7 separate regions of the Homo sapiens genome follow, and all the other regions are linked to region 1. Evidence: promoter capture Hi-C in 16 types of primary human blood cells and fetal thymus (Javierre and others, 2016). All regions are on one chromosome and are shown on one strand. The core of a region is centred on a gene start or on the middle of the fragment in contact, and the rest is flanking DNA. Distances in the headings are between cores, read along the strand shown.

What was found. The method cuts DNA at HindIII sites, captures the fragments that hold promoters and counts their contacts. A CHiCAGO score of 5 or more calls a contact.
Region 2: a fragment that was not itself captured here is called in contact with the fragment with the promoter of LCT in region 1 in 1 of 17 cell types (M2 macrophages); the score reaches 5.0 in M2 macrophages.
Region 3: a fragment that was not itself captured here is called in contact with the fragment with the promoter of LCT in region 1 in 1 of 17 cell types (erythroblasts); the score reaches 6.1 in erythroblasts.
Region 4: a fragment that was not itself captured here is called in contact with the fragment with the promoter of LCT in region 1 in 1 of 17 cell types (neutrophils); the score reaches 7.0 in neutrophils.
Region 5: a fragment that was not itself captured here is called in contact with the fragment with the promoter of LCT in region 1 in 1 of 17 cell types (neutrophils); the score reaches 6.2 in neutrophils.
Region 6: a fragment that was not itself captured here is called in contact with the fragment with the promoter of LCT in region 1 in 6 of 17 cell types (neutrophils, monocytes, total B cells and 3 more); the score reaches 10.8 in neutrophils.
Region 7: a fragment that was not itself captured here is called in contact with the fragment with the promoter of LCT in region 1 in 13 of 17 cell types (total CD4 T cells, activated CD4 T cells, naive CD8 T cells and 10 more); the score reaches 12.0 in total CD4 T cells.

What each region holds. Positions count from the first base shown.
Region 1 is chr2:135,835,049-135,838,810 of GRCh38, reverse strand. LCT (lactase) reads left to right here and starts at 1,627. Exons shown (of 17, transcript NM_002299.4): 1 at 1,627-2,281. The coding sequence starts at 1,642. The HindIII fragment of the contact is 13,164 bases long and covers 1-3,762 here.
Region 2 is chr2:135,122,554-135,126,315 of GRCh38, reverse strand. It overlaps RAB3GAP1 (RAB3 GTPase activating protein catalytic subunit 1), which reads right to left. Exons shown (of 24, transcript NM_012233.3): 9 at 2,070-2,151; 10 at 67-135. Among named protein-coding and RNA genes, the nearest start is that of SNORA40B, 12 kb to the left of the region's middle. The HindIII fragment of the contact is 2,885 bases long and covers 165-3,049 here.
Region 3 is chr2:135,158,581-135,162,342 of GRCh38, reverse strand. The region is part of intron 19 of RAB3GAP1 (RAB3 GTPase activating protein catalytic subunit 1); the gene reads right to left. Among named protein-coding and RNA genes, the nearest start is that of SNORA40B, 24 kb to the right of the region's middle. The HindIII fragment of the contact is 6,425 bases long and covers 1-3,762 here.
Region 4 is chr2:136,455,438-136,459,199 of GRCh38, reverse strand. No RefSeq gene overlaps it. Among named protein-coding and RNA genes, the nearest start is that of THSD7B, 310 kb to the left of the region's middle. The HindIII fragment of the contact is 1,081 bases long and covers 1,466-2,546 here.
Region 5 is chr2:136,436,895-136,440,656 of GRCh38, reverse strand. No RefSeq gene overlaps it. Among named protein-coding and RNA genes, the nearest start is that of CXCR4, 320 kb to the right of the region's middle. The HindIII fragment of the contact is 3,596 bases long and covers 372-3,762 here.
Region 6 is chr2:136,417,278-136,421,039 of GRCh38, reverse strand. No RefSeq gene overlaps it. Among named protein-coding and RNA genes, the nearest start is that of CXCR4, 300 kb to the right of the region's middle. The HindIII fragment of the contact is 7,220 bases long and covers 1-3,762 here.
Region 7 is chr2:136,399,658-136,403,419 of GRCh38, reverse strand. No RefSeq gene overlaps it. Among named protein-coding and RNA genes, the nearest start is that of CXCR4, 280 kb to the right of the region's middle. The HindIII fragment of the contact is 4,517 bases long and covers 1-3,762 here.

The sequences.
Region 1 (3,762 bases), core at 378-2,877:
TTTTTGAGATGATCTCCCTGTGTTGCCCAGACTGGCCTCAAGCTCCTGGGCTTGAGCAGTCCTACAGTCTGAGCCTCCAAAAGTACTGGCAAAACAGGCGTGATTGACCATGCCCAGCCTGTATATAAGGATATTCATTTGCAGCATTGTTTGCAACACAAAAATGTAAAACCAACCGGTGTTTAATATGCAAGATGTTAATTTATGGTACATTCTTGCTGTGGAAAGCTATGCATCTGTTAGAGGTGGGTCTATATGTTCTGATACAGGCAGAACTCTAAGAGCTATTAAGTGAAGAAAAGGCTGAAAATACATATGGCATAATTCCATATATGTTAAATTGTTCTATATTTTAAATGTTATACACGTTTCCATTTGTATTTACGTAATAATAATGATCCCTGAGCTGTACTGTTGTATACATGCTACAAGAAAGACCCATTTAATCCCCACAGCCTATGATGAATTATCCACATTCTACAGGTGACAAAATAGAGGCACAAAGTTAAGTAATTTTTGTCAGGTGAGATTTAAACCCAGGCATTCTGACTCCTGTATAACCATTAAGATATGCAGAGAAAGAAAACTGGAAAGATACATATTGCTGAAGATACTTATTATAGGAAGAGGAGGGGGGAGGGTGAAGGAATTTGCAAGTTTTTCATAGATGTTTCCATATTGTTTGAATCTCTTACAAAATATGTTCAGCATATTTTTAAAGAGAAAATTTGGGGCAAAATACTTATTTTTGTATTATGTAAACAAATTTTAAAATAATGTGTGGCTGGGTGCGCTGGCTCACACCTGTAATCCCAACACTTTAGGAGGCTGAGGCAAGAGGATTGCTTGAGCCCAGGAGTTCAAGACCAGCCTGGGTGACATGGCAAAACTCCATCTCTACTAAAAATACAAAAAATTAGCCAGTCGTGGTGGCGCACACCTATGGTCCCACCTACCCAGGATGCTGAGATGGGAGGATCACTTGAGCCCAGGAAGTCAAGGCTGCAGGAAGCTGTGATCGCACCACTGCACTCCCACCTGGGCAACAGAGTGAGACCCGGTCACCAAAAAACAAAAAAAACAAAAAAAATTGGTAATCGTTTTCTTCAGACATTTTCCGGGTTCCTCTGCTTAACTTGTATAGGAAGTCTGAGGTTTTTGTGTTGGTCTTTACCTTTTTTTTTTTTTTTTTTTTTTAAGATGGAGTCTCATTCTGTTGCCCAGGCTGGAGTGCAGTGGCATGATCTTGGCTCCTGCAACCTCCGCCTCCTGGGTTCAAGTGATTCTCCTGCCTCAGCCTCCTGAGTAGCCGGGACTACAGGCGCATGCCACGATGCCTGGCTAATTTTTTGTATTTTTAGTAGAGATGGGGTTTCACCATGTTAGCTAGGACGGTCTCGATCTCCTGACCTCGTGATCCGCCCACCTCGGCCTCCCAAAGTGCTGGAATTACAGGTGTGAGCCACCACGCCCGGCCCTGATCTTTACATTTTTAAATATTGCATTAGTGAACCGTGTACTGATTTTGTGATCATAGATAACCCAGTTAAATATTAAGTCTTAATTATCACTTAGTATTTTACAACCTCAGTTGCAGTTATAAAGTAAGGGTTCCACATACCTCCTAACAGTTCCTAGAAAATGGAGCTGTCTTGGCATGTAGTCTTTATTGCCCTGCTAAGTTTTTCATGCTGGGGGTCAGACTGGGAGTCTGATAGAAATTTCATTTCCACCGCTGGTCCTCTAACCAATGACTTGCTGCACAACCTGAGTGGTCTCCTGGGAGACCAGAGTTCTAACTTTGTAGCAGGGGACAAAGACATGTATGTTTGTCACCAGCCACTGCCCACTTTCCTGCCAGAATACTTCAGCAGTCTCCATGCCAGTCAGATCACCCATTATAAGGTATTTCTGTCATGGGCACAGCTCCTCCCAGCAGGAAGCACCCAGAATCCAGACGAGAAAACAGTGCAGTGCTACCGGCGACTCCTCAAGGCCCTCAAGACTGCACGGCTTCAGCCCATGGTCATCCTGCACCACCAGACCCTCCCTGCCAGCACCCTCCGGAGAACCGAAGCCTTTGCTGACCTCTTCGCCGACTATGCCACATTCGCCTTCCACTCCTTCGGGGACCTAGTTGGGATCTGGTTCACCTTCAGTGACTTGGAGGAAGTGATCAAGGAGCTTCCCCACCAGGAATCAAGAGCGTCACAACTCCAGACCCTCAGTGATGCCCACAGAAAAGCCTATGAGATTTACCACGAAAGCTATGCTTTTCAGGGTGAGTACACATTGACCTGATGGTGACCCCTCGGCAACCTTCATCACACACCTTCCCCATCCTCCTTAGAGCAGATTCGACATTTCTCCCAACTCACCTTCAGCAGTCCTCTTATGTCTGTGCATAGGGAGAAATTAATATTGTAAATTGATTTCCCACTGGCGATAGGAAGGGGTAGCTAACATGGCAAAACACTCAGCATTTCCTTTGAAAAATATCTTTGAGGCTCACGCCTGTAATCCTAGCACTTTGGGAGGCCGAGGTGGGCGGATCACTTGAAGTCAGGAGTTCGAGACCAGCCTGGCCAATATGGCAAAACCCCGTCTCTACTAAAAATACCAAAATTAGCCAGGGATGGTAGCAGGCGCCTGTGATCCCAGCTACTCGGGAGGCTTAGGCAGGAGAATTGCTTGAACCCAGGAGGCAGATGTTGCAGTGAGCCGAAATCATGCCACTGTACTACAGCCTGTGCGACAGAGCAAGACACAATCTCAAAAAAAAAAAATATGTATACATATATATATATATATATATATATATATATATATATATACACACATGTATTTTTGAAATACCCCTTGCCCAGTCTTGAGTTGTGCAAGCACTGATTGTCTTTCTGTCTTCCTTTCCGTCTATGTCCTGCTACCCTGACTTGGAGGCAAAGTTTCGTGGTTTCCTGTCCTTCCCCCTCGGCTCCCCTATACTTACATGTCTTAGTTGGAGCTTACATTGCAGCTTGGGAGACAGACAAATACAAGATGAAACAATTATATATCACAGGATGAGGAGAGCACAACTGTAACTGTTCACATTCCTGCCTCCTAGGGGACTTGAAGTTCTGATCTGTAGGCCTAGGCTGAACCAGGACATTTGTGATTATAATCAATTCCCTAAGTGTATGTTAGGTACACCAATTTTGAGAATCAATTTTGGATTATATATGCTTTCTTGTTTTTATTATATACCATATACATACATATTTGTATATATAGTACCTGATATATATATATATATATATATATATATATATATATATATATATATATACTTCTATGTTCTACTTTTTCATTTTAACATAGTTTATGACTATATTCTCATTTTATTAAAAACTTGAGCCAGGCATGGTGGCTCATGCCTATAATCCCAGCACGTTAGGAGGCCAAGGCAGGGGGATTGCTTGAGGCCAGGAGTTGGAGACCAGCCTGGGCAACATAGAGAGCCACTATCTCTAAAATAATATAATAATTTACTCCAGTGCTGGAATAGTATTGCTTAAAACAAAAGAAAAACTTGAAAGCATAACTTTCAATGGTCTTTTAGGTTCCCATTGTATAAATGGAGCATAAAGTTTAAGGTATTTTCCTTATTTTTGTATGTTTATTCTAATTTTCACTAGTTACAAGTTATGTTGCAATGACATTCCTATCTATAAACTATTTCCCACCTTCTGATAAATTCTTTCTGACAGAATCTTAGAATTG
Region 2 (3,762 bases), core at 358-2,857, 710 kb after region 1:
GCAATTTGAGAGTTATTCTACTGAAGTTTTTTAATCTCAGTGTACTACTACTCTTAACATACTTACGAATAAACATCATTATCCACAATGATCCCTTCGGTCAGATGAGGCCATGTAGTAGCTAAATGGAGTTCACTAAAAAACATAAAATATACCCAAAAGCTTTAATACTGACTCAGCAATTATATTTAATACTTCTAGAAAACTATACCAAGGAAATAAAAGTATGTTACAGTGGCATTATTTATAATACAACATACTGGAAACAACTTATTTAGCAAATGGTAGCACATCCTTATGAAGTTAATGTTTTGCAAACATTCATCTCATTATACATAATAGCCAAAAAGCATAAATAACCCACCAACTAATGAATGGATAAACAAAATGTGGCATATCCATACAATGGTATATTTACAGCCATAAAAAGCACAGAAGTACATTAGTTCCTCCTTATCCACAGCTTCACTTTCTGCAGCTTCAGTTACCCTAAATCAACTGCAGTCTGAAAATATTAAGTGAAAAATTCCAGAAAAAAAATCCATAAATTTAAAGTTGCATGTTGTTCTGAGTAGCATGATGAAATCTTGTGCCATCCCACCCCATTAGGTGAATCATCCCTTTGTCTAGTGTACCTACACTGTCTATGCTACCTGCCCTGTTAGTCACTTAGTAACTGTCTTGGTGATCAGAGTGATCACAAGAAGAGTGTGCATAGTACAATGAGATATATTGAGAGAGACAGATCACATTCACATAACTTTCATTAAGGTATATTGTTATAGCTGTTCTATGTTATTATTAGTTATTATTGTCAATCTCTTACTATGCCTCATTTACATTTATTTATTTATTTTGTATTACATCACCTGGAAATCTTACTGTGCCAAATTTATAAATTAAATTTTACTACTTATCTGTATGCACAGGAAAAATATTTAGTGTGTGGTACTATCCATGTTTTCAGTCATCCACTGGGGATCTTGCAACATACCAGCTGTGGATAAGGGGGTACTACTGTACTGATTCATGCTACAACATGGACAAACCTTGAAAACATGCTAATTAAAATAAGTCAGACACAAAGAAAGCCACATGTTATATGATTCCATTTATAAGAAATGTCCAGAATAGGTAAATCCAAAGAGACAGAAAGTATATCAGTGTTTGCCTAGAGCCGGAGGGCTGAGAAGACTAAGGGGAAATGATGGCTAAGAGGTGAAGAATTTCTTTTTAAGGTTATGAAAATGTTCTGGAATTAGATGATTATGATGGTTGCACAGCTCTGTAAATATTAAAATACCATTGAATTGTACACTTTTAAATAGTGAATTTTATGGCAGGTAAATTATATCTCAAGTTTGAAAAATGTTATAAATCAGGAGTTGGCAAACATTTTCTATAAAGAGCCAGAGAGTAAATATTTTAGGTTTTGTGAACCATGCACAGTCTCTATTTTATTTTTTTTCTTTCATAACCTTTAAAAATGTAAACACCATCCTGACTTCACTGGCCATACAAAAATAGGCTAATGGCCAGATTTGGCAAAGGACACAGTTTGCTGAGTTATAGATGAATATCAAATCTCAGAAAGTTTTCATGTAAAATTATAAAATAAATAAAGCAAGTGTAGGTCTTTCTTTCTTTTTTTGAGACGGAGTCTTGCTCTGTTGCCCAGGTTGGAGTGCAATGGCGTGATCTTAGCTCACTGCAACCTCTGCCTGCCGGGTTCAAGTGATTCTTGTGCCTTAACCTCTTGAGTAGCTGGGATTACAGGTGTGCGCAACCACACCCAGTTAATTTTGACATTCTTTAGTAGAGATGGGGTTTCGCCACGTTGGTCAGGCTGTTCTCGAACTCCTGACCTCAGGGGCTGCCCACCGCAGCCTCCCAGAGCGCTAGGATTACAGGCATGAGCCTGTGCCCAGCCCAGGTGTACGTCTTTCTTTATTTCCAGTACTACATTCATCCCAGCAAGCTATAGCATCATAAAGCACAGTGAAATCAATATCAATATAAATTCAAAGTAAAATATTCCCACAATTCAAATGACAGGTTGAAATTCTCACCTAATAGGATCTTCGCAGGCACCAAATGGTAACTTGCCAAACTCCAAGCCTCCAACTTCTCCTCCTACAAGGGCATCTATGTCTAAACAAAAGAAATATTTTTCCATCATTTGGGAAAAAATAAAGAAGAGTCTAATCTAGTTAAGCCCTTTGGAATATCATAGCTTTAAAAGTGTCTGCAAGAGAACACATGTAGCAAGTTAGCAAGTTAGACCAACTTACAGCATATGTAGTCTAACAATATTTGACTTCCCCAGAGAATGTTACAGTAAAAGGGCACACTTATTTCCTATTTATCCAGTATTTCATTCAGGCCAGGTATTCTAAATTTTGCCCTTCTGAAATATTCCTTAAATATTACTCAAGAGAATATTATTTCTGTACATTTTTTTGCATTTTTAAAGAATGTAATTAGTATAACCCAAAAAGAGTATCCAAGTATTTAAAAATCACCAACTACATTAATCAGTTTTGCTATCAGTAATTTCTGAATAGGAAATTAGTATATTTGTCGTCATTAATAACATTATATTTTGGTTGATAGTAAATGGAAATATATAAAGATCAGAAAAGAACCTCCTTTCCATTACGAATGGCATACTAGACTGGAAGAGAACTTAGAGGGTAAATCATTCCCTTAGTTCTATCTCTCCTGAGGAAGTAATAAGCATTTCTAAAAGGCATCAAAAGGATTTTTTTCTCTTTGAAATAATACAAATTGTGATATTTAATTATTCACACTATACTAGGATTTCCTGAAATTAAAGCCTACTGAGTTAACAAAACTTCCCATATTTGCTAAAATCACATCTGATATTTATCTACATCCTAAGTAAATGATTAAAATTAGTCATCAAATATGAATCAATTACTTGATTCAGTAAATTTTCTCAAGTCAATTCCATTTTTCCAACTAAAGAATGCTTATAATAAGAAAGATCACAATGACTAGCATTGTTACAAGTGAGTTTGTAAAAGCTTCAAAATTACAAGCACATTTTTATAATTAGTAAATTAAAAATTATTACTAAAATATAACTGTACAAAAGTTTTAGCTGAATTAAAAAGGGAGAAGCAACTCGTGGAATGAAAAGCACATCGGACTTGGAGTTTGACTAGTGTTTGTATGCAAACTTTATCACTTGGTGACCATATGACTTTAAGCCAGTTACATGGGTTAAGAAACTTACATCTCTAAGAAAGACAATACTTGTCTTGGGCTGGGCACGGTGGCTCAAACCTGTAATTCCAGCACTTTGGGAAGCTGGGGAGGGTGGATCACCTGAGGTCAGGAGTTCGAGACCAGCCTGGCCAACATGGTGAAACCCCATATCTACTAAAAAATACAAAAATTAGCCAGGCGTGGTGGTGCATACCTGTAGTCCCAGAGACTCAGGAGGCTGAGGCTGAGGCAAGAGAATCGCTTGAACCCAGGAGGCAGAGGTTGCAGTGAGCCAAGATCATGCCACTGCACTCCAGCCTGGGTGACAAAGCAAGACTCTGTCTCAAAAAACAAAACAAAACAAAACAAAAGATAATAATAATTGTCTCACAGGTAAGTGAAAATTATACAAAATGGGATATAAAATATGAAAAGCACAGTATCTCATCCATATTATATGTTCAGTCCCTTCCCCCTTATAAAGGAAAATGTTAAGAATTTATATGGCTTTCAATCTACTGAGGGAGAAGG
Region 3 (3,762 bases), core at 1-2,500, 680 kb after region 1:
CTTTCTTATGTAATACACACAAATAAGGAAAATACAAAGAAAATAAAAACTACCGACTGATTACAATACCAAGAGAAAACAACCATTGACAGTGGAGCATTTTCATTTTAAGACGCAGAATACACGTACTAAGGGCACTAATATTAAATATGTAAAATACTGCCTTTTAACCTGCTTTTCTCACTTAATATTTCTAAACATTGTTAGTGACTTCCCACACATTTTTTGGTTTTAGTTGTTTTGGTTTATTTTTTTTCCAATTCTTATTATAAGAATACAGAGAAGTATGTACAAAACATGGACCCTACCTTTAGGCTCCTTATTCAACAGTAAAGATAAAAGAAGTATAACCCTATAAATATGTACAATTCTTTTACATCAATAAAAATTTTAAGAAGTATAATCTCATAATGTGAGTCTGACTGATAAATGCTCATGGATTTCAAAATTTTAAAAAAAATACAGGTGATGCAGAAATTTTCCTGAAATCCTACTTCCCCAAAACCACATTTTCGTGTTTATCCTCTCAAACTACTTGTATGTCCATTTAAACACAAAAATGTAGATGCATATGTAATTTCTTAACAAAAATTAATAACTTACATACTGTTTTATTATTTGCTTTATTTAATGACTTGTGGTGGACTTTTTTTTGGCTTAGAGAGTTTTGTCTGATTTGAAACTTTTTTTAAATTAAGAAATATACATACTAGAGTATTAGAAATAGTTTAAAGAAAACACCAGCTTAGGAAACAGAATGTTACCAGGCTTTTCCAAGTCCTCCTGTGTACCCTCCATCCCCAGAATTAACTACAAATCATTCTTTTGCTTTTCTTTATGGTTTTTTTCACATATGTAGCCTTAAATAATATATTGTTTACTTTTGTCTAGTTTTAACCTTTATATTAATGGAGTGTTTCTGTTTATAGCCCTCAGTGACTTGCTTTTTTTCATTCAGTATTTTGATATTCGTATACCATTCCAATATGCTATAGTTTACTCATTTTCACTGCTGTATTAAAATGTTCCTACACTAATAGTAGTGGATAGCTCCTCAGTTTTTGGCTATTACAAATGATGCTCCTATTACATTATTGCACATATTTCCTGGTGCAAATGGGACATGTACAGCAATTACTTTAGGATATATACCTAACAATTGAACTAGGAAATGTACAACATAATTATCCTACAAAGTGTTTCAACAGATTTACATTCTTATCTAGAGTAATGAGTTCCCTCTGTTGTACATCCTTGCTAATACCCACCTTTCTGAATTTTGTTTTCCCCTGATTCACAGAAAAACAAATTTGCAGGAATAACGTGAAATATGTGATTCCCCTTTACCTGGATTCACGTATGACCTGTCTCCCTCCTCTGTTCTGGATCCCTTGCATCTTTCTCTGCTTTCATGTGTGTACATACTATAGACATAAACTTGTTTCGAATAATTTCAGAATAAGTCGCACACTCATGTCCCTTATCCCAAAATATCTGTATTTCCTAAAATTAAAAATATTTTATTATATAATCAAAATGCAAATGATTCTGATTATATACAATAAATTTAACACTGATAAAAATAATTGTAATCTAACCTACTATCTTTATTGCAGTTTTGTCAACTGATCCCATATGTGTCTTTTTTTTTTTTTTTTTTTTTTTTTTGAGACAGGGTCTTTCTCTGTTGGCCCAGACTGGAGTGCAGTGGTGCGATCTTGGCTCCCCACAACCTCCGCCTCCCAGGCTCAAGCGATTCTCCTGCCTCAGCCTCCTGAGTAGCTAAGACTACAGGCACATGGCCACTACTGCCCGGCCAATTTTTGTATTTTTAGTAAAGACGGAGTTTCACTATGTTGGCCAGGCTGGTCTCGAACTCCTGACCTCAAATTATCCACCTACCTCAACCTCCCAAAGTGCTGAGATTACAGGCATGAGCCACCGCGCCCGGCCGCAAAATGTGTCTTTTATGACCCTTTCCCTCAACCACTACAAGTCTTGGTAAGGATCATCCATTGCCTTTAGTTATCATAGCTCTTTAATCTCAACTAATCTGCAACAGCTTTTCACTCTGTCTTTTATAACATTGGCATTTTGAGTATAGTTTCCTCTTCCTCCCTACTTTTTGGCTAACTAAAATTCCATACTGTATTCAGATTTCCTTAGTTTCTAAAAATTGAGTTATAACTCACATACCATAAAATTCACCACTTTAAAATGGATAACTTCAGTGGTTTTTAGCATATTTGCAAGGTTATGTTACCATCACCATTATCTAATTCCAGAATATTTTCTTTCATCTCCCCCAAAAGAAACCCAGTACCCCAAAGCAGCCACTCCTGATTTCCCCCATTCCTAATCTCCACTGCTGCCAACTACTAATCTAACTTACTGTCTCTATGGACTTGCCTATTCTGGTCCTTTCATATAAATGGAACGACGCAACATGCAGCCCATTGTTTTCTGGCTGCTTTCACTGAGCATAATATTTTCAAGATTCACCCATGTTGTAACACATATCAGTGCTTCATTCCTTTTTATGGCTGAATAATACTCCATTGCATGGACAGACCATATTTGTCTTATCTGTTCATCACTGACAGACATTTGGGTTTGTTCCATTTTTTGGCTGTCATGAATAATGCTGTCAGCATGTATGTATGTACGCGGTTTCCTTAGTTTTTATCTAATGTCATTTTCCTGTTCCAGGATCCCCTTCAAGATACCACATTATGTTTAGCTGTCATGTTTCTAGGCTCCCTTGGCTGTGACATTTCTCAGGTTTTCATTGTTTTTACTGACCTTGACAGTTTTGAGTTCTGGTCAAGTATTTCATAAAAACTCCCTCAATTATGGTTTATCTGATGTTTTCCTCATGATTAAGCTGGGTTATGTATTTCTGGGAGGAAGACCAGAGAGGTAAAGTGCCACTGTCATCACATCATGTCAGGAGTACATACCGCCAGTATGGCTTAGCCTGTGGATGTTAACCTTCACCACCTGGCTGAGACAGTGTCAGTCGGGCTGCTGCACTGTAACATCACTCCTTTCCCCTCTCTGTGCACTGTACTCTCTGGGAGGAACACACTATGTGCAGCACACACTTACAGAGTGGGAATTAGCTTCACCTCCTTGAGGGTGGAGTATCTATATACATTTAGAATTCTGCACAGGGGATTTGTCCCTTCTATCCCATTAATTTATATATCCAATCAATTATTTATACCAGTATGAACTCAAGGATATTTATTTTGTACTCTGAGTTACAATCCAATATTATTTTATTTTGGTGTTCAAATTGTTCCAGTCTTGGCCAGTTGGGAACTCTTTCAGTTGGCTCCTGTGTCTTTAATATGCCCCCAAACTTCTGCAAATTTTTCTTTTTTCAAAATCTTTTTAAAATAGAATGTTCCTCATTTTGGGTTCATCTAATGTTCCCTCACAATTAGACTAAGATTTTACATTCCTGAACCAAATGGCATGTTAAGTGGTGTTGGGTCCATCAGAGTATCATAGCCCAATGTGTACGATCTCCATTTACTCCTCATTGGTGATGTTAATTTGGAGATACTGTCCTATTTCTCCACTTTCCTTGCAATGCAGAAGCACTCTATAGAGAAACACTTAAAAATCATGCAAGATGATGCTCTTCAATTTTCCACCTAGACTTAATATTCATGATTCTTGGTGAACCAATCCTTACTATGAACATGGTTGCAAAATGAAGACTTCCAACTCCAACATATCCTCTACATTTACCAC
Region 4 (3,762 bases), core at 757-3,256, 620 kb before region 1:
TGTGAGGTTGGAGGCCTACACAGAGTCCCCACTGGAACACTGCCTAGTGGAGCTGTGGGAAAGGAGCCACTGCCCTTCAGACCCCAGAATGGTAGAGCCACTGGCAGTTTGCATCCTGAGCCTGGAAAAGGCACAGACACTCAACTTCAACCCATGAGAACTGCTACATGGGCTGCACCTGCAAAGCTACAGAGGTGGAGCTGTCCAAGGCCTTGGGATCCCACCCCTTGGACCAGTGTGCCCTGGATGCAGGACACAAATTCAAGGAATATTTTGGAGCTTTAAGATTGAATGACCACCTCACTGGATTCCAGATTTGCATGGGGCCTATACCCCTTTCTTTTGACCAGGTTCTCCCTTTTGGAATGGAATTGTTTACTCAGTGCCTATGCCACCATTGTATCTTGGGAGTAAATAACTTATTTTGATTTTACAGGCTCATAGGTGGAAGGAGGTGAGTCTCAGTTGGAACTTTTGGACTTTGGCTTGATGCTGGAATGAGTTAGGACTTCAGGGGACTATTGAGAAGGGATGATTATACTTTGCAATGAGATTTGTGGGGTCAGGGACAAAATGATGTGGTTTGAATATATGTCCCCTCCAAATCTTATGTTGAAATGTGAATCCCAGTGTTGTAGGTGGGGCCTGGTGTGAGATAATTGGATCATGGGGGTGGACCTCTCACGAATGGCTTAGCATCATCCCCTTGGTGATCAGTGAGTTCTCACTCTCTTAGTTCATGGGAGAGCTGGTTGTTTAAAAGTATGTGGCCCTTCCCCTCTCTCTCTCTTGCTCTCACTCTCATCATGTGATGAATCTGCTTCTGCTTTACCTCCAGCCATGAGTAAAAGTTTCTGAGGCCTCCCTAGAAGCCAAGCAGATGCCAGGAGCATGCTTGCCCAGCCTGCAGAACTGTGAACCAATTAAACCTCTTTTTTTAAATGAATTACCCAGTCTCAGGTGTTTCTTTGGTTTTGTTTTTGAGACAGGATCTCACTCTGTTGCCTGGGCTAGAGTGCAGTGGCATGGTCATAGCTCACTGCAGCCTTAGAAGACCTGGGCTCAATTGATCTTTCCACCTCAGCCTCCCAAGTAGCTGAGACTACAGGCATGCACTACTGCACCCAGCTAGTTTTTTATTTTTTTGTAGAGACAGGGCCTTGCTATGTTCCCCAGGATGCTCTTGAACTCTTAACCTCAAGTGATCCTCCTACCTCAGCCTCCCAAAATGCTGGGATTACAGTTGTGAGCCACTGCACCTGGCTTGATATTTCTTTATAGTGACACAAAAAAACAGACTAACACAGGGAGAGTGCTGTGCTAATATTTTAATTTGCATATACATCTACTATAATAACAATAATATAACAGGAACTGCACATTTACCACTCTACTGGCCCAAGACGCAATTGCCCACTGGTTCTATCCAGTCCCCGCTTAGCCCCATCTTTATTAAGGGCAAGCTTTCTCTTCAGACCATCATCTCAGCCCACCAGGGGTTATCTTTTCCCCAGTCTCTATCTCCAAGTTATGATTGGGACAGGGAAAAAGGCTGAATGGGCTCTCCATAGCCCTGACAAGTGTCACTTCAACCCAGACACTCATGGCTAACAGGCTGACCACTGGCTGTTGGTGACAGCAATAAGCAGGACAGCTGAGTGACCTACACATGATTCTCTGATACTCTCCCCAGAAAGTCCCTGTCATCATTCCCAGCCACCAGCCCAACCCAGAGGGTTTCCAACTCTTTCCTCCCTACTCCCTCCTTCAAAGGTGCCTCTCCTTCCCCAATTCAGACTGATGTAGCTTATGGAAACAGGAAAATTCATTTTGCAAGCCTGCTTTCAAACTTTGTATCTGACTCTTTCATCTAACACTTTTACAAGCAGCTTCCTTAGCTGCTGTTTCTGAAGTGCAAGCCCACAGATCAGAGTGCTGGGAATGGGAAAAACCCTCAGGACCTGCATCAGAGACATTAATGAGTCTAGTGAGGAAGAGAGACACACAGATATAATCCAACTGTGACACGAACAACAAAAAAACAAGAATTGCAACACTGTGCAGATTTTAAATTCAAGAATTCTCATACCAGGTGTGGTGGCTCATACCTGTAATCCTAATACTTTGGGAGGCTGAGGTAGGAGGATCACTTGAGCTCAGGAGTTTAAGAGCAGACTGGGCAACATAGTGAGACCTTGTCTTTATAAAAAAATTTTACAAAGCAGTCCAGCATGGTGTCTTGTGCATGTAGTCCCACCTACTTGGAAGGCTGAGGTTGGAGGATCGCTTAAGCCTGGGAGGTCAAGGCGGCAGTCAGTTGCAGTCACGCCACTACCGCCCAGTCTGGGCAATAGAGGCAGACCCTATCTCAAAAAAAAAAAAAAGAAAAGAAAAAAGAAAGAAAAATGCTTCTACCCTACCATATTAGCTGTAAGCATAGAAAAACACTTAATGTCTCTAGGAACCTGACATGTATCTCTATCTATATATCTATCTCACTATAGATATGAAATTATTATTTTAGGAGAGTATAAGATTCATAAGCTTTGAGTTAAAGTGGGAGTGACTTTGTACCCTTCCTAAACAAATGCTAAGATTAAATTCTTCTGGTACTGTGGATAACGAAGTCCATTTTAAAAGTATATTGAAGCCTTCCTGTATTTTCCTCTCTCTTCCCCTTTTCCCCCTTCCCATTCTGACCTGAAGAATTCACTCCAAATGCCCCAGATGGGGGAGAAATTTGCAAAGCCCCAGAGTGAAGTGTTGTAGCCTTCCCAGGGTGCAGAGAGCATTCCCATGAGTGTGTGAGGGTGTGAGGAGGGGAAAGAGCAGAGAATAGCTGGATGCTTTGTAGAGCCCAGGTGCAGTGAGGAAGGGGAAGGTGAAGGAGAAGGGGTGGCGGCCCAGCCCAGCCTGTGATTCTGGAGACTCAGTGGGGCCAGGAGGGTGGCGGTGCAGAGAATCAGAGCCCTAGCTGCATGAAGAGGTAGGTCTTGTGTATATGTGAGGGGCAGCCCAGCCCGTACCGTCAGAGTCTGAGCAGGGTAAGAATGATATCTATGTAGGAAAGAGGTCCAGTGTGGGGTGTCAGAGCCCAAGTGGAGTGAAGAGAACAGCCAGGCAGAGGGCCAGAGCATCAGAAGATGCACAAGTGGGATGTGAGACATCTGTGCAGGCCAGAGCAGTGGCAGATGCAGCACAGTGTCAGAACCCAGCAGGAAGAGAGGAGGGTGTCTATGCAGAGTGGAGCAGCCATGGTGAGGGGAGACTGGTGTAGACTGGGAGGCTGATCAAATATATAACACAGTAAAGAGATTAGGAATCATCTCTCTCACCATCACAGCAGGAAGCTGCAAATACAGAAACAGAGAAAACTAGAATAAACTCTGTGGTATTAGACTGGAATTGGAGATAGCAGTGTGAACTCATCGTCTTTAATATGTATAGCTGGATATTGAAGCAAATACAGATGTAAGTGTGTTTGCGTGTACATACACATATATATAGTCTCTAGCTCTGTCCACTGAGTGGGTCTGGAAGCAGTAACACCCCAGTAGCAATGAGAACATCTAGCGCCCAGATCTTGATTTCTAAATATCATCTGCCACTAAAACAAAACAAAAGAAACAAAATGAAACTACGGCTCCTTAGGAAACAGCCGAGTCTAGGGGAGAAAACATAACATGATCCTGGAATATCTTTTTGCACCAGAAAGCAAGGGAGGGCTCAGCAAATGAGGACATGTGAAAAGGACAGAGAAGC
Region 5 (3,762 bases), core at 920-3,419, 600 kb before region 1:
AAACTACAGATAAAAAGGCAAAAGTAAATAATATTAGCTAATGGAACATATTAAAAAGATTAAATAGTGAAATAAAATCATTTAGGATGCATAAATTTTGCTAGAAACACATTCTAACCAAAGGGTAATACTGGACATACAGGCTGCAATACAGAAACCAGCACAGAGGTGAGCAGCCCGGGCCATCTGATCAATCTCACCACCCATCATCACTGTGGAGCTCTCTGAGCCCAGCCTGTACTTGCAAGTCCCCAAATCTACCACAATTTCCTTAAAGGACACTGCCTGGGGGAACTGGGGATTATACCACACGAGCCACAGAAAACCCTCATAAAAATCCTCTTTGGATATCTGTTCCTCTCCTCAAAGCTTCCCACCCACAGCACCTGCCAAAAATCTCTCCTTCTCTCGTCCTCCCTCTCCGCTATACTATTCACTCCCATGCACACTAGCCTCTCTGCTCCAGCACCCTTGCTTCTGATGAGAGAACCTCCTGGCCTCACCTCTTAGGGAAGGACAGCTCAATGTGAGCCTCTGAATTCTCATCTTGCCAGAAAGTGCCCCCTAGAATGGAATGGATGAAATTCTCTACTTCATTACACATACATGTGGCAAGATTCCCTCAACACTGGGTTCTTGGAGGAACAAGTACTACCACTCTTCCTAATGTGTCTCAGGGCCTATCCCTGAGCCCAGCACACAGTTCATGCCCAGTTAACACCTGTTGTAGGTTAAAAAAAGAAAGAAAGAAAGAAAAAAGAATCTGTAAACTTCAAGCTGGGTAGGGCTCAAATATCTAACAAACTGAATCCCACAGCAGAGGGTCCCACCTTCCAACTGATTTCTAATCAGAGCCCCCCAGGGCTCTTACCTATCACATGGGCACCTTCAGCTCCTCCCAGAAGGCACATAAGGTAACAGCAGAGATGCCCTTACTCAAGGTCCACAGCAACAATGAAAGGAAGTAAATAACAATGCTGCTGTGCGACCTCAAGGTGAGAGGGCTTCCAGGCAGTGATCAAGGAGGGCTTAATGGAGGAGGGGGAATTGAGCAGAAGACTTGGAAAATGGTTAGGCTGTGTGGATAGAGGAAGAACATGTCAGGATTCCTGGGAATGAACAGGATATGAGCTCACATGCAGAGAGACCACTTCAGCCCTCTACCCCAAAGGCAGCCCCTTGCTCCAGGTTTCTGGCAGAAAGCCAGCCAGAGTCCTGCAGGCAGCATTCTGTCCAAGGTGGAGGAAGTTCCCCAAACTGAACAGTAGAAACTTTGCAGGAGCTGCTGAACTGCCATAAGGCAGGGCCACTAATCTTCTGGCCAAATCACACCTTCCTTTATGATGCAGAAATCCACTCCTGGGCTTTCAGCACACCCTCCAACACGAGGCTATGCAGACAGCTGCTGCATTTGCATTTGGACAACCATAAGTATAAGAAGCCATCACACTCTATTCCCTGAAAGAACACAGTAATTCCAGTTGCCTCTTCCATAAGGCACTTCCCGTGACGTTTAAATAGACAACGACAGTTTGCAGCACTATCCTCCTTAGCAAGGATTTGCCTAACCTCTTGCATGAGCTGGTTTTCAGTTCTCATGGCCATTTGGATTACGTAAATCATTACACATACTTATTACCACCAGGACAATTGCTGGCTTTTTATTTTTTCAATTCCAGGGAGAGTGGGAACCTTCTTGGTCTGAGCTTTAGAGAGGCCTTGGGGGGGGGGGGGGTATCTTATTTCGTTCAGGCTGCTATAATAGAATACCAAAAGAATGGGTGTGCCAGGCACGGTGGCTCATGCCTGTAATCCCAGCACTTTGAGAGGCCAAGGCGAGTGGTTCACAAGCTCAGGAGATCGAGACCATCCTGGCTAGCATGGTGAAACCCCGTCTCTGCTAAAAATATAAAAAATTAGCCAGGCATGGTGGCGGGTGCCTGTACTCCCAGCTACTCAGGAGGCTGAGGCAGGAAAATGGCATGAACCCAGGAGGCAGAGCTTGCAGTGACCCGAGATTGCGCCACTGCACTCCAGTCTGGGCAAAAGAGCAAGAGTCCGTCTCAAAAAAAAAAAAAAAGAAGAATGGGTGCCTTCTGAGTAACATTTATTTCTTACTGTTCTAGAGGCTGAGAAGTCTAAGATCAAGGCACCAACAGATTCAGTGTCTGGTGAAAGACCATGTCCTGGTTTCTGGATGACTGTCTTCTCGTTGTGTCCCCATGTGGTGGACAAGGGAACACTTTTGGGTCTCTTTTATAAAAGCAGTCATTTCATTCATGAGGGCTCTGCACTTATGACCTAAACACCTCCCAAAAGCCTCGCCACTTAACACCTTCCCCTTGAGGATTAGGTTTCAACACATGTGTTTGGGGGGACACAAGCATTCCATCTTTAGCAGGGGTTCTTCATCTCTACCGCCTTGCATTCCTCTGGAAGAAGATGCTACACTGAAATTCTGTTTGCTCCAACCGAAATGCCAATATCACAGATATCTGATAGCAAAGTGAGTATGGAACAGCTTCCAATACAGAATTTTCAGGAAATGGTTGAGAACCAGTTTTGTAACTCTTGAGCTCCTTACTCAGTGGCCTTTATTTGCTTTGGAAATATAAAATTTTGAGAGTGGAGGAAGGGGAAATGTGTGAAGCAATTGCTTTGAAGAGAACTATCATGATGCTGGGAGTCCCACCCTAACCCTTCCATGCAGAGGAAGCAGGACTTGCTTTCTGGAGAAGGTGCTTCTGTTGATCCATTCAAAGACCATGAAGAGCATCCCTGTAGTGAGGGAACACTGTGCTCTGGACAGAAAACTGAGCAGGCAGCCGCTGCATTTGGCATGTGGCAGCTGGAAAGAGCACACAGCTGGGCTTGGTCTGAACCTCTAGGGTTTACTGGGACAGGATGCAGACCCTGAGGGAAAGCTAGCCTGGAGCCATTTTAAATCCTGCCCAAAGGCTGCCCAGGAGCATGTGGAGAGTGTGAGATGCTGTGTGGAGGAATGTCAGATAACAGGGATGCGGGCAGCATGGCGGGAAGGAATTGCACAGCCTGTATCAAGGTAGTGTCAGTGGGTTTCCCAGGTAGAAGGATTTCCAGCAAACTCCAGGTCAGGAGTTCAAGACCAGCCTAGCCAACATGGTGAAACCCCGTCTCTACTAAAAACACAAAAATTAGCTGGGTGTGGTGGCACACGCCGGTAGTCCCAGCTACTTGGGAGGCTGAGGCAGGAGAATCGCTTGAACCAGGGAGGCAGAGGTTGCAGTGAGCCGAGATCAAGCTACTGCACTCCAGCCTGGTGACACAGCGAGACTCTGTCTCAATCAATCAATCAATCAATCAATAAAATAACTTCTCGAAGTTGATGCAGCTACAATGGCTAGAACTGCAGCCCCCGATCTTCACATCCGTGGGAGTGAGAGTCAGCTCAAAATATCTGCCAGGCCTGGGAGTGCGACACAGATGGCAGTTCAGCAAGGAGATTTGCTGTCCCTCCTTCCCTTCCTCCCTCCCCATCTTCCTCCCCCAGTGACTGGGAACAGCAGTTATCCGGTACAGAGAGAAGAGCAGACAAAGCAAGAAGGACATGGCTCTGCTCTTACAAAGGGTCAGCCACAGTGGGGGTCCAGCCACAGGAGGCACAACATCTCATGCTAATTATATTCAGAGATTTGATTATTGTTGAGGTCTGGAGATTCTATTTTCTGAACTGTGTTTGCAATTAGTATAACTATTGGTTTGCTGCCTAAGAGTGAGCAGAAA
Region 6 (3,762 bases), core at 780-3,279, 580 kb before region 1:
TCTTTCTGGAGCCCTGGTTTCCCAACACAGAGGAACAAGACTATTTGCCCCTACTTAGGGAGATCCATGAAGACCTGTAATTGTTGAAGACAGGTTCATGAGTGTGAATTAGAAACTGCAGCCAGTTAAAGGAAGAAAAAGAGGCAACTGAGGAAATAGATGTGTTAGTATTTTTACCATGAAATATCACTTACATCTACATCAACTGGAGAAGATTAAAAGAATTATTTCGCATGAAGCATTTGCCCTCCTCAAAGGCACTGCTATTATCAGGTCTGTAAGAAACTGCTCATCCCTGAAGCCTTCATGTAACAATCTTTGCCTTTTATCCTGACCAATTCACCTCATCACAGAAAGCGCCAAATCTGCTATACTGAATCCTGTTTAATGGTGGGAGGCACTCAGTAGTGTCACTTCCCAACCATGCTCTGATTTCCTTGTAGGGAATCACCTTGGCCCTCACTGTGTGCAGTCTTCGTGGGACAATAAAACCACGTGCCTGCCCTCCCAGAGTGGAAGCTGGAGGGGCTCCACGAGGCTCCTTCTGCTCTGTCCTTCCTCTCGCCAGCTTGATACAGGGCAGTCCTGTGACCTTGGCTCAGCCAATAGAATACTCGCTTCCCTGAGATGTTGAATCTTGACAGTGACACAAGGACAGACAAGAAATTAGGATCCATTGATTCCTGTGGAGCCCTGGAGAGAACAATGAGCAGAGCCCACTATAAGATGTTCTGGAACAATCTGGTGCCCACCTGCTCCAAGTTCCTCAGCCATCACTTCCATTATTTGACCCTGTAAACCTTCTTAAAAAGTTCATTAGTCCTTTTTTTGCTAAAGGTTGCCAAACTTTCTGTTACTTGCAACTAAGAAACTCGACTGGATACAATGAACATTCAGGGATCACAGTTAGGTATCAGTAAGCACCCACTATCTGTTAAAAATTAACATTCACCTGCTACCCAAAAATACAGTGGCAAAAAAAAAAAGGAGGCATCATTTTTCGCTCACACAGAAGAAATCCAAAAGTGCATTGTCCAGGGCTGGCGTGGTGCCCTATGGTGTTAGCGATGACCCAGGCTTCTTCTCACTTTCTGCTCCACCATCTTCCACTCAGATTCCATCCATGAGGTCTCCTCACCATCCCAGGACTGTCACTGGGACTTGTTATCCTAGCCATGTTCCAGGCAGGGAGAAGGGAGACGGGGAAAGGAATGGGTCTCCTGCCAGCCAGGTGAATCCCCTTGAAGGAATTTTGCTGGAAGTGACTTCCACTCACACCTCATTGACCACCCCAACCTCAAGGAAAGCTAACAAATATGTTTGTTTTTTTAAGCAGGGCATCTTGAAAAATTCAAAGAGATTTTAAATGTTCTCACCACAAAAAGATAAGTATGTGAGACAATACATATGTTAATTAGCTTGATTTAGCCATTCCATGATGGACACGTATTTCAAAACCCATTCTACATGATAAATATATGCAATTTTTATTTTTCAATTAAAAACAAATTAAAATCTTTAAAATTAGAAATTTTAAAATTAAAAACTAAATAAAAGTTGGAAGAATTGCCATACTCAAATATACAGGGATCTTATCCTAAAAAAACAAGAGAGCATGGATACTGGGTAGGCAACTGGCAATCTCTTTCACACACTGCTTTCTGGACAACTGCTAAGGAAAGGTATTCTGAGGACCATCACCCATCTTTCATCTTAGTTTCCCCTCAACCTTTCTTGGTCGATCCTGTCTAAAAAGATTCCCTAGTCAAAACTCTGGTTTTGAGGAAAATGACAGGAAATTTTCCATTTCCGTGGACCTCACTTGGAATCATCGTTCCACTAGGTCTTTATTGAATGACTTTGAAGACGACACTTAATTCTTCCAAACCTTAGTTGCCCAAAATGTAAAGTCTGTCTCAGTCAAGGACTGACCCAGGCAACAACCTGCAGTCCCTTCGAGGTTAAAGATGATGTAAAATTAGCATTTCTAATAGTCGGAATGTTCAACTACCTTGCAATGAGCAGCAAAGTAAAAGGGATATACAGGTCATGAAGTGGACAGAGCTTTCACAATTCTTCTCAGCCTTTGACCCCAGGAAGGGTTTGACTTGTGCCTTGAGTTCAGATAGAAATGTGTCTCCTTGGATTTCCTTGGAAGTTAAAGAGAAAAAGCTACTGTGACCCAAGGGGTAAACTCACCTAAGGGAGCTGGCGGGGAGGGAGTTAATTTCATCTTTATGGCCAAAATATTTCTAAGTCCCTCTTGGAAGACAATTCTCCATGTGTCTGACTGCCTTTGCTGGAGACTATCTTTCCCAGGATGTTTGTATAGAGAGCAGCCTTGGAAGACAGAAATTGTGCCTCCCTCCAGAGCAAAGAGCAAGGTTGTTTATTGCCCACGTCATAAAGATGGCATCTGCCTCTGGAGTTAAGCCCAGCCATGCTTATTCCCTGTTAGAAAAGATTTGGATTCCCTGAACTCAGGGTACCTCTGTAACACAACTCACTGCACACACAGGCATTACCTGGCCTTCTCCACATTGCCCTGATACAAATGTTGATATTCTGGTTACTGCTAATGTGGAATATAGTAAAGTTATTTGTCTCTGACCCAGGAGTCCACCAGCATCCATTAAACTGTGGCAGGTTAACTTGTCGGCTGGCAAGTGGGGTAAAATCCCAGACCAGTCACAGTCTTAATGTCCCTTTCTTCCTTGTCACCGCCCCCTGTCCCTGACCTACCTCCCAGATGTAAACACTGGCTTAGCACCCAATCAATCCTCGGAAATATATTTTTAACACTTGCAGTTAAATTATAGAAATCTCGAAGTAATTATCTGTGTATTTTAAAGAACTCCCCAGATGCTGAAATATTTCTTCCAGGCACTTAGTCCCTTGCTATGCCCAAATCCTTGGCATGACATGGTTAAAGAATACTTGCCATATCCATGGACCTTTCTCATGGGACACCCACATAAGGCACAAATAGGAGACTGTGTGTCAACCGAAGACTCCAGAAGAGATCTAAGAGTAATGGAAGATGTGTATTTATCTCCCACTTTCATCTTCCCACATTATCTGTCCAAACAGTCGATAGTTGATTTTTTTTTTCCAAGAACTGGAAAGTTAAAGGAATGGGACTGTAAATAATAGGCTAAGCTGATGGTGGGTGAAATGGTCCAGGCTGTTTGACTTTTCAATATTAAAAACCTTCGGTCACCCCAAATACACACAAAGAATGATCAGATAGAAAATAATCTTCTCTTGTTCATACCCAACAATCTGTTGTCATCTGCCAGGGCTACAGCAGAAATCAAACACTGAACAGTAATAAAAAATGATAGCAATCGCCTCTGCTGATTCCATTCATTTCTGACCCATCTGTGCCCCAGGTACATCGGAAATTCAGCCCTCAGAGAGCACGTGTGTGTGCGTTTCAGCTGCCAAACTCTAGCCTGGCCCTTCTCTCCCTTATTAGAGGAGTCCAAAGCCAAAGCCAACTTTTTCAGATTCTATTCTAAGAGAAATAATAAAAGACTAATTCCATAAGCACATTCCCATTGGCAAACAGCTTCCCGCTTTCCCTAAGAGAAGGGCTTTGCCCTACCATCACCAAATGTCAGAGCTGAATAGAAACTTGGAAATCTCCTTGCTCAAGCCCATGTTTTCATATGAAGAAGGTGAGGCTCAGAGTGGGCTACTGGCTCATCTAGAGCACACAGCAGCATCTGTCACCCCAGCCATCACTCTTTCTACAGCTGC
Region 7 (3,762 bases), core at 508-3,007, 560 kb before region 1:
TGAATTTACATGTTGTTGTTTGAGGGAGTTTCATAGCCTAAGAAAGCAAAAAAGTGTTGGAAGAGTGGGACTGCCTCAGGAGTTCAGAGAAGAGAGTACCATGAGGTGCCCTACACCCCATCCATCCCTGACTCTGTGCCTTTAGACAAGGCTTGAGGATTGTGGCTGATAAAGGAAGTGACATCAATGAAATAAGGAAGAATACCTAATCATGAAAATGGAGAGTCTGTAAAGCATCATTGTAAAGAGCATGAGCCCAGAAGCCACATATCAAGTGACCTTTAGCAATTTGGGTAACCCCTGAGCCTGTTTCCCATCCATAATAAATCTGATGATCATATCTACCTTGTAGGGTTATTATGGAAAGTAAGTTAAATAAGACACTATATGCAAAGCACTCAACACGACGCCTAGCAGATAGCTGTCAATCAACAGTAGCTATTAATATTAATTATATTCATAAAGACCATTGTGAAAAAGGGTAGAGGCATGGTAATTAGATGTCTGTCTTGGGGATGTATTGCCTGGGCTTGTAGCCCCTGCTCTTCTACCTAGCAGCTGTATGGCCTTAAGCAAGTCGCATAAACCTCTCTGTTCCTCATTTTCTTTATCCATAAAATGGGAATCATAGTATCTACCCCATATGTCACTGTAAGAATATTAGTGTGGCACCAGCACTGAGTCTAAAAGGAGAAGGAAACTAAAGTCTAGAACAAGGTGAGAAAGAGAAAAGCTGTGCACCTCTCTCTAGGCTTAAATAGCTGCTGCCTGCCCTGAGTTCTCAGTGATGTCCGCGTGTAAATAGACAGACAGTGGAAGAGAATACAAATCCCAGAAGTAGATCCAAATACATATGGAACATTATGACATCCTCTCAAATCAGCAGAGAAAAATGGACTGTTCAATAAATGAGGTTGGGACCATCGGGTGGCCATCTGGAAGAGCTGGCTCTGCCTTCGTCCTCTCCAATGGGGAGGAGTGAACCTAGCAGAGAGGAACAGGAATGCGCCAGAGTCGTTTGCTCTCCATGCTTTGTCATCTTTGAAGTAGCACCTATTCAAAAGTATTACCCACTCTAAAAAGTCAAAGAAAAAAAGATAGATAAATAGTTCTCCAGAAGTGATGAAAGATGGATTGTCTGGGAGAAGGGCCAGGAATCCCAGGAGGAGGTTGGCTTCTCTAGCGAGTACATGCACCCTTCTTCCAAGAGGCTACAAAACACATGCACAGCTAGGGACAACAGTGCAGAAGCTGGAAAAGGGCTCTAGGGGACCATGCGGTCCCTCTTGCCTATCATTGTACTTTGGGCCAAAACTTGAATGCAAATTCAAGCATTACTTGGGAAGGGAATACGGTGTATGTGCCTACTTTTCTAGATCGGCAGAGATGGGAGCTACTGAAAGAGAAGGACCCTGGTCAGGGAGGTTTGAGGAGGTACTGGACACAGGATCTGGGGATGCCACTAAAGCTGTCAGAGCCATATGAAGCCAGAACAGTGGCAGGGCAGAGGGAGCTGATGGGATCTCAGAAAGGAGCCCTAAGCATTCCTTGAGAGAGGGCAGGGAAAGGAGATGTGTTTCCCCAAGTTCATTCTTTTGCTAGGACTCGTATTTAAGGAGCCTGGTCTTCCAAAGATGCTGGAGGCTGCATGTCATGGCCTCAGAAAAAGCTCTCAGCTCCCCTTGTCCTCAGCAGTGATTTAAGTTCAATTGTACAACTAGCATCAGTTGACAACACTCTCCAGATCTGAAAGACAAGCCTGGCCCTTCACTCCCACTGAGTCTACCCAGGGGAATTATCCATCCTATGGCCCCCTTCCTAAGTGTGCTTCTGACAAGCCTTCTCCCAATTGTCCCAGCCTTTGATTTGTATTTATATCTCCTACTCACACCACATCCTAAGAGAATTCAACTCAAGTGTAACCCTGAATGGGTTACAGGTTATAAGCAAAAAAAAAAAAAGTGCAAAATCAATGCAGCCCATAAACTCTCATTCCCTTGCCTCTTCGCACAGCTCTAGAGATAAGAGTCTAACTCAATTGATGCAGAATTCACTGCTGAGGAATTTTTTTTATTAACTTTTCTCCTGATTATAAAAGGAGAACTCTATTTCTTGCCCTTCTAGGTCTTACCCTGTAGATTAGACACAATGACAGCATCCTCACAGAAAAATCTGGAAATACGGAATAAAATATAAGAAAAAGAATTCAGACACCAATTATCCTACCACCCAAGATAACAATATTATTGTATTGGAGTGTGAATTTCTAGTCCTTTCAATAAAGCATGGTTGATACAATTTAAATGATATTATATATTGAGTATACTGTTAATATGATAATATCAATATCAAATTATATTTTGTATCACTTGCCAATGGACTTAAATTCTGTATAATTTTTGGTGGTTACATATTATTCCATCCTAAGGATATGCTGATATGCTGAAATTTATTTGACCAATCCTATAACAGATGCTTTTCAAGGTCAATTTTTTTCTAATATAAATAATGGTATAATAATAACATTTTGCCTGAAGCCTGACTCACCTATTAGATCACTACCCTAGGATTAATTCTCAAAATTTAAGAATGCAAGGCCAAAGAGTAGGAGCATTTTTAAGGTGATGTGTAATATCACACTGACCTCAAGAAAAGTTTCACCCATTAAACTCCCCCAACCCACTATAGAACTTTTGCTCTCTATATCAAACTTTGAACCACTTCCCAGATGAGCCATAGCATTCAAGGCTGGAAGAAAGGTGGTATCCTATGAGAGTGTCCCCACAAGATTAATCCATCTGTCCGGAGAAGCAAATCCGAAATCCAGCCAGGGCCAAGGAATACTGTAGGCATGTGCTTTTTGAGCAACACTTCCATTAACCCTGTTTCTGGTACCACCTGTCTAGGAATCCACGTTAGGGGCTTCCCCCTCCCCCGACACTAAATACTTGGTATATTTTCCAACATCAATTCTGTTTCTCTGACACCAACTGGGTATCCAACAATCCAATTCAATTATAACACTATCAGAATTAGCATAGACCCCACAGGTTAAGGGCTCAGTCCCACAAGACTGCCCCACTTCGAATGCCACTCACAAGTCCAAGGTTGCCAGTTGCACTTCTGATGGAACAACTATAAATTTAGGAGATCCCACAACATCCACCTTAGGTTCAATAATTCACTAGAACAACTCCAAGAACTCAGGAAATCTCCTTGCTATTACTCATTTATTACATAACCCAAGATTCACAGGGAGGGTATGGAGAGTAGCGGCACAGAGCTTCCCTGCCCTCTCTGGGTACACCACCCTCCCAGCACTTCAGTGCATTCACCAACCCCACAGTTCCTTAAACCCCGTCATTTATGGGTTTTTATGAAGGTTTCATTATGTAGGATGATTAATGAAATCACTGACCTTTGGTGATTGAGCTCAATCTCCAGCCCTCCTCTGGAGGTCAGGGTGGGGCTGAAAGTTCCACCCCGTAATCATGGCTTTGTCCCTCTAGTAATCAACCCCTGTACTGAAGTTATCTACAATAGGGATTGATCACTGGAGGTTGACTCAGCCACCAGTCATTCATAAGCATACAAAAGAACCAGTTCTGGCCGGGCACGGTGGCTCATGCCTGTAATCCCAGCACTTTCGGAGGCTGAGGTGGGCAGATCACTTGAGGTCAGGAGTTCAAGACCAGCCTGGCCAATAGCAGCAAAACCCTGTCTCTACTAAAAATACAAAAAAGGTAGCTAGGCATGGTGGCA